Regions from separate parts of the Homo sapiens genome. Here region 2 is linked to region 1. Evidence: promoter capture Hi-C in human tissues and cell types (Jung and others, 2019). All regions are on one chromosome and are shown on one strand. Each heading gives the region's core, a stretch centred on a gene start or on the middle of the fragment in contact. The rest is flanking DNA. Distances are from core to core; before and after follow the strand shown. Region 1 holds the start of PGAM5 (PGAM family member 5, mitochondrial serine/threonine protein phosphatase). Region 2 overlaps CHFR (checkpoint with forkhead and ring finger domains).

Region 1 (5,315 bases), core at 1,481-3,980:
CTCAAGGGCTCCGTTTGGGCCACGCCGACCTGGGGGCCTGTCATAAACCAGGCCAAGACTCAAATTGGCAGGTATGGGGGAGTCAGGCTGAGCCAGAGAAAATATTTGGGAGCTATAGGCACAGAGACAGGAAGCCGTAAACTGCATGAGACCTCCAGGAAGAAGCTGGAGATTTCACCAGATGAGGCTCTGGAACTTTCAAGTGTGGACAGGTGAGACTCAAGAAGAAACATGCTGTCTTCTAGCACCTTCCTGTAGTTGCTCATGCCTTCTGTCTGTATAAGTCTTTCCCAACCCACAAGGCCCAATTCACTTCTCCCCAGACATGACAAGCAAATACAGAACACCTGCTTAAAAGAGAAAGGCTGGGCTCAGCTCCCGGTTCTACTTCAAGTTCTTTTTTTTCTTTTTTGAGACAGAGTTTCACTCTATCACCCAGGCTGGAGTGCAGTGGCACGATCTGGGCTCACTGCAGCCTCCACCTCCTGGGCTCAAGTGATTGTCCTGCCTCAGCCTCCCAAGTAGCTAGGACTACAGGTGCATGCCACCATGCCTGGCTAATTTTTTTGTATTTTTAGTAAATACAGAGTGTCACCGTGTTGGTCAGGCTGGTCTCGAACTCCTGACCTCAAGTGATCCGCCCACCTCAGCCTCTCAAAATGCTGGGATTACAGGTGTGAGCCACCGCACCCAGCCTACTTCAAGTTCTTTAACGGCAGAGTAAATCTGTTTCCTTAAAAAGACCTAAGAAATTCAGAATATTGATTCAGAATTTCTGATTTTTCAGAATTCTGATTTTTAAAAAAGAATATAACAGGCTGGGCATGGTGGCTCATGCCTGTAATCCCAGCACTTTGGGAGGCCGAGGTGGGAGGATCACCTAAGGTTGGGAGTTCAAGACCAGCCTGACCGACATGGAGAAACCCCGTCTCTACTAAAAATACAAAATTAGCTGGGCATAATGGCGCGTGCCTGTAATCCCAGCTACTCGGGAGGCTGAGGCAGGAGAATTGCTTGAACCCGGGAGGCGGAGGTTGCAGTGAGCCGAGATTGCACCATTGCACTCCAGCCTGGGCAACAAGAGCGAAACTCCGTCTCAAGGAAAAAGAAAAAAGAAAAGAAGGAAAAAGAATGTAACTCCAGTCTAATCATGAGAAAACCTTCAGAGAAGTCTCAATTGAGGGACCTTCTACCAAACCCCTGACCAGGACGCCTCAAACACTCATGATCATCAAAACAAGTCTGAGAAATTGTCACAGCCAAAACATGCCTACGGAGGCATGAAGACTACTTGTCATGTGGGACCCTAGAACAGAACAGCAGGTAAAAGCTGAGGAAATCTCAATGAAACATGAACCTTAGTTAACAGTAATGTATTATAAACTAATATAATAACTATAATTAATCTATATTATTTTGGCTCATTAATTTTGATATATACACCATGCTTAGTGTATGATGCTAATAATAGAGGAAATAAGGTTAACAAAAGATAAAAATCTAATATAAAGTACCTAACGCAACCACAGTAGTATAATTCTGTGCCCCCTTTCTCAAAGTACTGAGTATAATGAGGAGTTAGGACTGGGAAAACCATCCTTGCCGCTAGAGCAGTCCTGGCCGACAGAAACAGAATGCCAGCAACATGTGAAATTATACATTTTCTAATAGCAACATTAAAAAGAAACAGGTGAATTTCGATCATACTTTTAATTCAATATGCTAAAAATACTATTTCAACACATAACTAATGTTAAAAACCTGCACTACTTTTTTTTTTTTTCCTTTGAGACAGGCTCTGTTGCTCAGGCTGGAGTGAAGTGGCGGGATCTCGGCTCACACTGTGCAGCCTGGGACCCCTGGACTCAAGGGATCCTCCTACCTCAGCCTCCCGAGTAGCTGGGACCACAGGCGCGCGCCACCTCGCTCGGCCAATTTTTTTTGTATTTTTTGTAGAGATGGGGGTCTCACTATGTTGCCCAGGCTGGTTTCAAATTTCTCAAGCGATCCTCCGGCCTCAGCCTCCCAAACGCTGGGATTACAGGCCTGAGCTACCGCACCCGGCCCTGCTTGCGTTAAGTTTAAATTGACGTAAACTAAGCATTCCCTTCAGGAATCACACGAGCCATATTTCAAACGCTCAATAACCGCACGCAGCTCGCGGGCGCGCTCCTGCAAACGCCCCTGAAGGAGGCCCGGCTTCCACCTCAGCCTCGCCCCGGCCCGCGCTCCGGCGATGGCACCCAGGGCGGACTCGCAGGGGCGGGGAGAAGGGCGAGGACGCGACGGAGCTCGGCCACAGAAGCCGGCGGGAAGGGTCAGCCGCCCCCGGAACCCTCCGCGCAGAGCGGCCCCGGAAAGCGGCTCCTCCGCTGGGGAAAGCAGACGGCGACCCCAGATCCCGACCCGATCGCAACCTTAAACCTGGTCCCGATCTCGATCCCAACGGTAACACCTGCCCTGACCCCCATCCCGACCCCGGCCCCAAACAGCCCCGCGCGCACCTGTCCCAGTTGGGGTCCCAGACACCGGGGCCCGGCCGCGCGCCCCCCGCCCAGGCCGGCGGCTCAGCCGGGCGTGGCTCCGCGTCCCCGCCTGCGCGCGGCTTCCCTACCGCCACGGCCGAGAAGAGCACGGCGGCCGAGCCCCCGGCCAGCCCGCAGGCCGCCAGCTGCAGCGCCTGCCGGAACGCCATGCCGCTTGCTCCCGCGCCGGCCCGCGCAGGCGCCCACGGCCCCGACGGCGCTCCGCGAGGAACACGCTTCCCCCGGCTGCCGCTTCCGGGCGGCGGGGGCGGAAGTCCCGCCTCCTGGGGCGCGGCAGGACGCGGGGCAGCCTTGCGCGAAGGGGCGTTTTCGTGGAGCCACCTGCCGCGCCACGCTCCAGTCCCGTCACTTGTGCTCGCGAGCGCCGGTGCGCGCAGGTGCGGGCGGGGTTGTGGGGACGCCGGGAGGGCGGCGCGGTACTTTCCAGAAGGTTCCGCACCGGAAGCGCCTGCCGAGGCCGGAGGCTGGGTGCAGGGGCGGAGACGCGGAGAACTTGGGATCCTGGTTTAAGGGAGCTGGGAAGCTGCCGCAGGTTTGTTTAAACGATATTTTTTTGGTGGCGGAACACGAAGTAAAGTTTTCCGTCGGCGCAGTTCCTGCGTGTGCTGTTCAAGCGGCCTGAAGTGCGTTCAGGTTCGGCCGGGCTGTCCCTCCTCCTGGTCCCGACCCCTCAAACCCCGGGCCGAACACCGCCCTCTCCTGCGGGACAGTCTTTCTATGGCCGGCGCGTTTCGCCTAGCAGGGTCCTCAGAGGGACCGCGTTAGAGCCTGGGTTTCCTTCCAGGGGGACCAGCGCTCCCTGGGTGGACCGACCCCACCGCTTACCCATTGCTGGACGCCTGCGTGCACCGACCCCACCGCTTACCCATTGCTGGACGCTTGCCCTGTTGCCATCTCCTCGCTAGCGTGAACAGTGCTGCGTGCAGATCTCTCTTTCATTGATTGTTTTGCGTCTGTACCCAGAAGTGGGATTGCTGGACCATCTCTGCCCATTTTAAAATTGGGAAATGACATGATCTGATTTAAGCTATTTAAAAATCACTTGGGCCTGGGCTCGGTGGCTCACGCGTGTAATCACAACACTTTGGGAAGCCGAGACAGGCGGATCACCTGAGGTCAGAAGTTTGAGACCAGCCTGGCCAACATGGTGAAACCCGGTCTCTACTAAAAATACAAAAATTAGCCGGGCACGGTGGCTCCAGCCTGTAATACCAGCTACTCAGGAGGCTGAGGCAGGAGAGTTGCTTGAACCCAGGAAGCGGAGGTTGCAGTGAGCTGAGATTGCCTCACTGCACTCCAGCCTGGGCAACAGAGTGAAACAATGTCTCAAAAAAATAAAAATAAAAAAACTGAATGGTTCCACAGAAATACTGAGACTTCTGCTTAAACAGGCTTTCTTGAACCTGTACGCTTCCAGTTGGGTCTGCTGCTTCCAGGTCATTTACTAAAAATGATAGGAAGATTTAAAAAATAAAAATAAAAGGAAGGCCGGGCGTGGTGGCTCACGCCTGTAATCCCAGCACTTTGGGAGGCCTAGGTGAGCGGATCACGAGGTCAGGAGCTCGAGACCATCCTGGCTAACACGGTGAAAACCCGTCTCTACTAATAATACAAAAAAAAAAAAAAAAAATAGGGCATGGTGGCGGGTGCTTGTAGTCCCAGCTACTAGGGAGGCTGAGGCAGGAGAATGCCGTGAACCCGGGAGGCGGAGCTTGCAGTGAGCCGAGATCGCGCCACTGCACTCCAGACTGGGCGACAGAGCGAGACTCTGTCTCAAAAAAATAAAGGAAAATTGGGCCGGGCGCAGTGCCTCACGCCTGTAATCCCAGCACTTTGGGAGGCTGAGGTGGGCGGATCACGAGGTTAGGAGATCAAGACCAGCCTGACCAACATGGTGAAACCCCGTCTTTACTGAAATACAAAAAAGCCTGGCGTGGTGGTGCGCGCCTGTAGTCCCTGCTACTCGAGAGCCTAAGGCCGGATAATCGCTTGAACCTGGGAGGCAGAGGTTGCAGTGAGCCAGGATGGTGCCACTGCACTCCAGCCTGGGTGACAGAGACTCTGTCTCAAAAAAAAGAAAATCAGCCAGGCTCAGTGGCTCATGCCTGTAATCCCAGCACTTTGGGAGGCCGAGGCGGGCAGATCACCTGAGATCAGGAGTTTGAGACCAGCCTGGCCAACATGGTGAAACCCCATCTCTACTAAAAATACAAAAATTAGCTGGTACATACCTGTAATCCCAGCTACCCAGGAGGCTGAGGCAGGAGAATCGCTGGAATCCAGGAGGCAGAAGCTGCAGTGAGCTGAGATCACACTACTGCACTCCAGCCTGGGTGACAGAGCAAGACTCCATCTCAAAAAATAAAATAAAAAACAAGGGAAAATCCACAAGGACATAGTTGAATCCATAAGAAGAAATGACAGCAGATAAATCAGTTAACAAAAGTTCAAGAGCTGGAGATCAGATCTTTATCGACCTGAGAATATGGAACACCAGTGCCTATGTGGAAGGAAACCAGGAAGCAAGTTCATTTAATCCAGTGAGTCTGGAAGAGTCTGGGAGTTGGCAGCATTAGCCTCCTGTCTGAGAGCTGTGGGGCTGAAAGCAGGAGCATTTAGAGGAAAAGGTTGCCTTCCACATTTCGTTTCTCCCCCACATGTTCAGGGGAATAGCTCACTTTCATCACCGTGGAGCACTAGAGAAAGGCCATTCCAGGGGACTTGAACAGGAGGGTTCTGGATTTCAGGACACCAAGCATAGCTCAGATT
Region 2 (5,315 bases), core at 1,599-4,098, 170 kb before region 1:
AGTTTTGGGAAATGTACTCACCAGTGCAGTCAAGATGTAGAACATGTTCGTCACCCTGAAAGGTCCCCCTGAGTCCCGGCTCCTGGCAGCCACTGATCTGGTTTCTTTGCCTTCTGCTGCTTCCAGCGTGTCGTGACACAGGGTCACAGGGTGTCTGCCATCATCTTCTGCGCCTGGCTTCTTTCCCTGGCACGCACCTTGTTGCATGGATGAGCAGTTTGCTCCTTTCTGTTACCGGGTAGTGTTCTGTGGTTTGGATGCACCATGGCTTGTTAGTTTACAACCAGTGGATGGACATTTATACTGCTTCCTGTTTTTGTAAGAAATAAAGCTAATATAAACATAAGTGTGCAGTCTTTGTAGGGACATACATTTTTCTCTTAGCTAAGTAACTATGAATGGAATTGCTGGGCCACGTGGCCAGTGTCTGTTTAACTTGCTGAGAAACTGCCGCATTGTTTCCCATGTGCTTGTCCATTTTGCAGTCCCACAGCACAGTACGAGAGTTCCAGGTTTTCCACTTCCCTTTTGGCCACTTGTAGGTGGTCAGTCTTTTTTTTTTTTTTTTTTTTTGAGACAGCGTCTTGCCCTGTCGCCAGGCTGGATTTGCAGTGGCGCAATCTCAGCTCACTGCAACCTCCGCCTCCCGGGTTCAAGCCATTCTCTTGCCTCAGCCTCCTGAGTAGCTGGGACTACAGGCACGTGCCACCATGCCCGGCTAATTTTTTTGTATCTTTAGTAGAGACGGGGTTTCACCATGTTGGCCAGGATGGTCTCAATCTCTTGACCATGTGATCCGCCCGCCTCGGCCTCCCAAAGTGCTGGGATTACAGGCGTGAGCCACCGTGCCCGGCCCGTGGTCAGTATTTTCAGCCAATTCTTATTTGGTGTGTAGTGGTATTTCATGGTTTTAATTTGCATTTCTCTGAAGATTAATGATGTTGAGCATTTTGTCATGTGCTTAATTTGCCATCCATATCTCTTCTTTGATAAAGTGTTTAAATTGTTTTAAGTTGCATTATTTACTTTCTATTTATTGAGTTATCAGAGTTCTCTATACATTCTGGATACAAGATCTTTGTCAGATATGTGTTTTACAAATATTTCCACCAGTCCATAGCTTGTCTTTTCATCTTTTTAAACAATATCTTTGAAGAACAGATTTTTACTTTTTTTTTTTTTTGAGATGGAGTCTCGCTCTGTTGCCAGGCTGGAGTGCAGTGGCACGATCTCAGCTCACTGCAACCTCCACCTCCCATGTTCTCCCACCTCAGCCTCTCAAGTAGCTGGGATTACAGGTGCATGCTACCATGCCCGGCTAATTTTTTGTATTTTTAGTCGAGATGGGGTCTCATCCTGTTGGCCAGGCTGGTCTCGAAGTCCTGGTCTGAAGTGATCCGCCCGCCTTGGCCACCCAAAGTGATGGGATTATAGGCGTGAACCACCGCCCCCAGCCTTACTTTTTTTGTTGTTGTTGAGCCAGAGTCTCGCTCTGTCGCCCAGGCTGGAGTGCAGTGGCGTGATCTCGGCTCACTGTAACCTCCGCTTCCTGGGTTCCCACCATTCTCCTGCCTTAGCCTCCCGTGTAGCTGGGATTATAGGCGCCCGCCACCATGCCTGGCTAAGTTTTGTATTTTTAGTAGAGACTGGGTTTCACCATGTTGGTCAGGCTGGTCTTGAACTCCTGACCTTGTGATCCGCCCGCCTCGGCCTCCCAACGTGCTGAGATTACAGGTGTGAGCCACCACGCCTGGCCCAGAATTGACTTTTTTTTTCTTTTTTTGAGTCGGAGTCTTGCTCTGTTGCCCAGGCTGGAGTGCAGTGGCACCATCTTGGCTCACTGCAAGCTCCACCTCCTGGGTTCACGCCATTCTTCTGCCTCAGCCTCCTGAGTAGCTGGGACTACAGGCGCCCGCCATCACGCCCAGCTAATTTTTTGTAGTTTTGGTAGAGACGTGGTTTCACCATGTTAGCCAGGATGGTCTCGATCTCCTGACCTTGTGATCCGCCCCCCCCTTGGCCTCCCAAAGTGCTGGGATTACAGGTGTGAGCCACGGCACCTGGCCCACATTTTACTTTTGACAAACCTCAGCTTATTATTATTATTTTTTCCTGGTTTGTGCTTTTTATATCCTATCTGCGAAGTCCATGCAAGACCCAACGGCACTAAGATTTTTGCCTGTCTTTTCCACTGGAAGTTTCATAGTTTTAGATTTTACATTTGTCTCTGTCTGGCCATCCTTACACAGCCACAATACTGTATTGTTTACTATAGCATGATGGTAAGTCAGTTAAGTAATATGAGTCTTCCAGCTTCATTCTTTTTCAAAATTGCTTTGGTTTTTCTACACGTTTTTTCTGTGAACTTTAGAATCAGCTTGTCAGTGTCTACAAGCCCTCTGGGATTTTGACTGGAATTGCATTGAATGTATGAAACAATCTGGAGGACAGCTGACATTTTAACAATACTGAGTCTTCTGATTCACACACCCATAGGTCAGTGATGGGAGCAAGGCTCAGGCTAAAGCAGATTCAGGGTGTCTTTCTGTGTGGAACGTTTAGGAAAAGTATGTTTGCATGCCACTGTCTCCTGACCAAACCCTTCGCTTTTTTGTCTTCTAGTATCTTTATGTATCCTTATAGATTATTATAGGCAGTAATGATTAATGATGAGATATTAAAACGCCTTTGTTCTTTTGATTTAAGGAGAGGGCAAGTATTGAGGATTTTCCCTCTTGCTTTTGTATTCAGGGCCGGGCGCTGGTGGCTCACGCCTGTAATCCCAGCACTTTGAGAAGCCGAGGCGGGCATATCACGAGGTCAAGAGATCGAGACCATCCTGGCCAACATTGTGAAACCTCATCTCTACTAAAAATACAAAAATTAACTGGCCCTGGTGGTGTGCGCCTGTAATCCCAGCTACTCAGGAGGCTGAGGCAGGAGAATCGCTTGAACCCGGGAGGCAGAGGTTGCAGTGAGCTGAGATCGTGCCACTGCACTCCAGCCTGGGCCACAGAAAGAGACTCCGTCTCAAAAAAAAAAAAAGAAAAAAAAAATCCCAAAGTGTCAGAATTACTGTATTCAGCTATAGATGCATCCCTGTATATAAGATGCAGTTTCTTATACGTGTACAAATGCCTATCGCAGGCCAGGTGCGGTGGCTCAAGCCTGTAATCCCAACACTTTGGGAGGCTGAGGCGGGTGGATCAAGAGGTCAGGAGTTCAAGACCAGCATGGTGAAACCCCGTCTCTACTAAAAATACAAAAAATTAGCTGGGTATGGTGGCGCATGCCTGTAGTCCCAGCTGCTCAGGAGGCTGAGGCAGGAGAATGGCTTGAACCTGGGAGGTGGAGGTTGTGGTGAGCCGAGATGGTGCCACTGCACTCCAGCCTGGGCGACAGTGCGAGACTCCATCTCAAAAAAAAAAAAACAAACAAAAACAAAAAAAAAAACAAATGCCTATCACAGTTGGCTCAGTCACTTTTTCTGTGACTGTCATTGCTTCAATTTTATGTTGATTTATGAAACCTAAGTTTACACAGAAAAGAAATTAAGGACTAAATTAAGATACTGAAGAATTACTTAAGCCCCTGAGTTTTTTTTTTTCTTTTTTTTTTTTTGAGACAGAGTCTTGCTCTGTCACCCAGGCTGGAGTGCAGTGGCGCCATATCGGCTCACTGCAAGCTCCTCCTCCCGGGTTCTCGCCATTCTCCTGCCTCATCCTCCTGAGTAGCTGGGATTACAAGGCGCCCGCCACCACGCCCGGCTAATTTTTTGTATTTTTAGTAGAGATGGGGTTTCACTGTGTTAGCCAGGATGGTCTCGATCTCCTGACCTTGTGATCTGCCCGCCTCGGTGTGAGCCACCGGACCTAGCCAACCCCCTGAGTTTTTTTAAAGTTCTAATAATACTCATCAGGTTAGCTGTGTATGCAAGCATATTGTAAAATTGCTTTTTTTTTTTTTTATTTCCAGTTGGAGTCTAGCTCTGTCGCCAAGGCTGGAGTGCAGTGGCGCGATCTCAGCTCACTGCAACCTCTGCCTCCTGGGTTCATGCGATTCTCCTGCCTCAGCCTCCCAAGTAGCTGGGATTATAGGCAACCGCCACCATGCCCAGCTAATTTTTGTATTTTTAGTAGATATGGGGTTTCACTGTGTTGGCCAGGCTGGTCTCGAACTCCTGACCTCGTGATCCATTCACCTCAGCTTCTCAAAGTGCTGGGTTTACAAGTATGAGCCACTGCGCCTGGCTGTAAAATTGCCATTTAAGAGGCTGTGTGTAACTGGAGGTATTGATGGGTGTCTTTGAGAGGGTGGGGATTCAGAAAGGTTCAGGATGGGCCGGGCGCGGTGGCTCACGCCTGTAATCTCAGCACTTTGGGAGGCCAAGGTGGGCAGATCATGAGGTCAAAAGATCGAGACCATCCTGGCTAACATGGTGAAACCCCGTCTCTACTAAAAACACAAAAAATTAGCCAGGCGTGATGGCGGGCGCCTGCAGTCCCAGCTACTCTGGAGGCTGAGGCAGGAGAATGGTGTGAACCTGGGAGGCGGAGCTTGCAGTGAGCCGAGATGGTGCCACTGCACTCCAGCCTGGGCGACAGAGCGAGACTCCGTCTCAAGAAAAAAAAAAAAATTTCTTTATGTCTTTCTTGGTCAAGTGTTTTTTTTTACATATGTACAATGGGGATCCTGAGTTGGAACCACATACTTTGGTAAACAAAGTGCAGTAGTGTTCACAGTTACCACGATCATATCCCGTGTTGACCCACCCTCTCTTTTTTAGGTTGCGACCTTTCCTTCCCCAGCAATAAACTGGTCTCTGGAGATCACTGTAGAATTGTAGTGGATGAAAAATCAGGTCAGGTGACACTGGAAGATACCAGGTGAGTATGTTCTGAGCTTCTTTTGGTGTTTCTTCTTGTAGCTTAAGAAGCCTGACTTCGTGCTCTGTGCTGTGTGCCACGGCTGAGGAGGAGAAGAAATGCTGTCTTTAGTGTGATAACAGCGGCTCATTTTTATAACAGCACAGTCATGTGTCCCTTAGCAACAGGGATCCAGTCTGAGAAATGTGTCAGACAATTTGATCATCTTGCAAACATCATGGAGTATACTTAAACAAACCTAGATGGTGTAGCCTACTACATACCTAGGCTATATGGTATAGCCGATTGCTCCTAGGCTATCAACCTATACAGCGTGCTACTGTACTGAATGCTATAGGCAGTTGTAACACAATGGTAAGAGTATTTATCTAAACACAGAACAGGTGCAGTAAAAATATGATATTTTAATCTTGTGGGACTCCTATCGTA

The links. The method cuts DNA at HindIII sites, captures the fragments that hold promoters and counts their contacts. A contact is called where the count stands out against the background at its distance.
Region 2: a fragment that was not itself captured here is called in contact with the fragment with the promoter of PGAM5 in region 1 in 1 of the 25 tissues and cell types used here (H1 embryonic stem cells).

What each region holds. Positions count from the first base shown.
Region 1 is chr12:132,708,257-132,713,571 of GRCh38, reverse strand. It overlaps PGAM5 (PGAM family member 5, mitochondrial serine/threonine protein phosphatase), which reads right to left and starts at 2,730. Exons shown (of 6, transcript NM_001170543.2): 1 at 2,505-2,730. The coding sequence starts at 2,695. It overlaps LOC124903063 (a long non-coding RNA gene), which reads left to right and starts at 2,977. Exons shown (of 2, transcript XR_007063551.1): 1 at 2,977-3,078. RefSeq lists silencers at 2,214-2,323, 2,534-2,993 and an enhancer at 3,164-3,213. The HindIII fragment of the contact is 20,255 bases long and covers 1-5,315 here.
Region 2 is chr12:132,877,126-132,882,440 of GRCh38, reverse strand. It overlaps CHFR (checkpoint with forkhead and ring finger domains), which reads left to right. Exons shown (of 18, transcript NM_001161346.2): 3 at 4,787-4,886. Among named protein-coding and RNA genes, the nearest start is that of CHFR, 7.8 kb to the left of the region's middle. The HindIII fragment of the contact is 8,676 bases long and covers 1-5,315 here.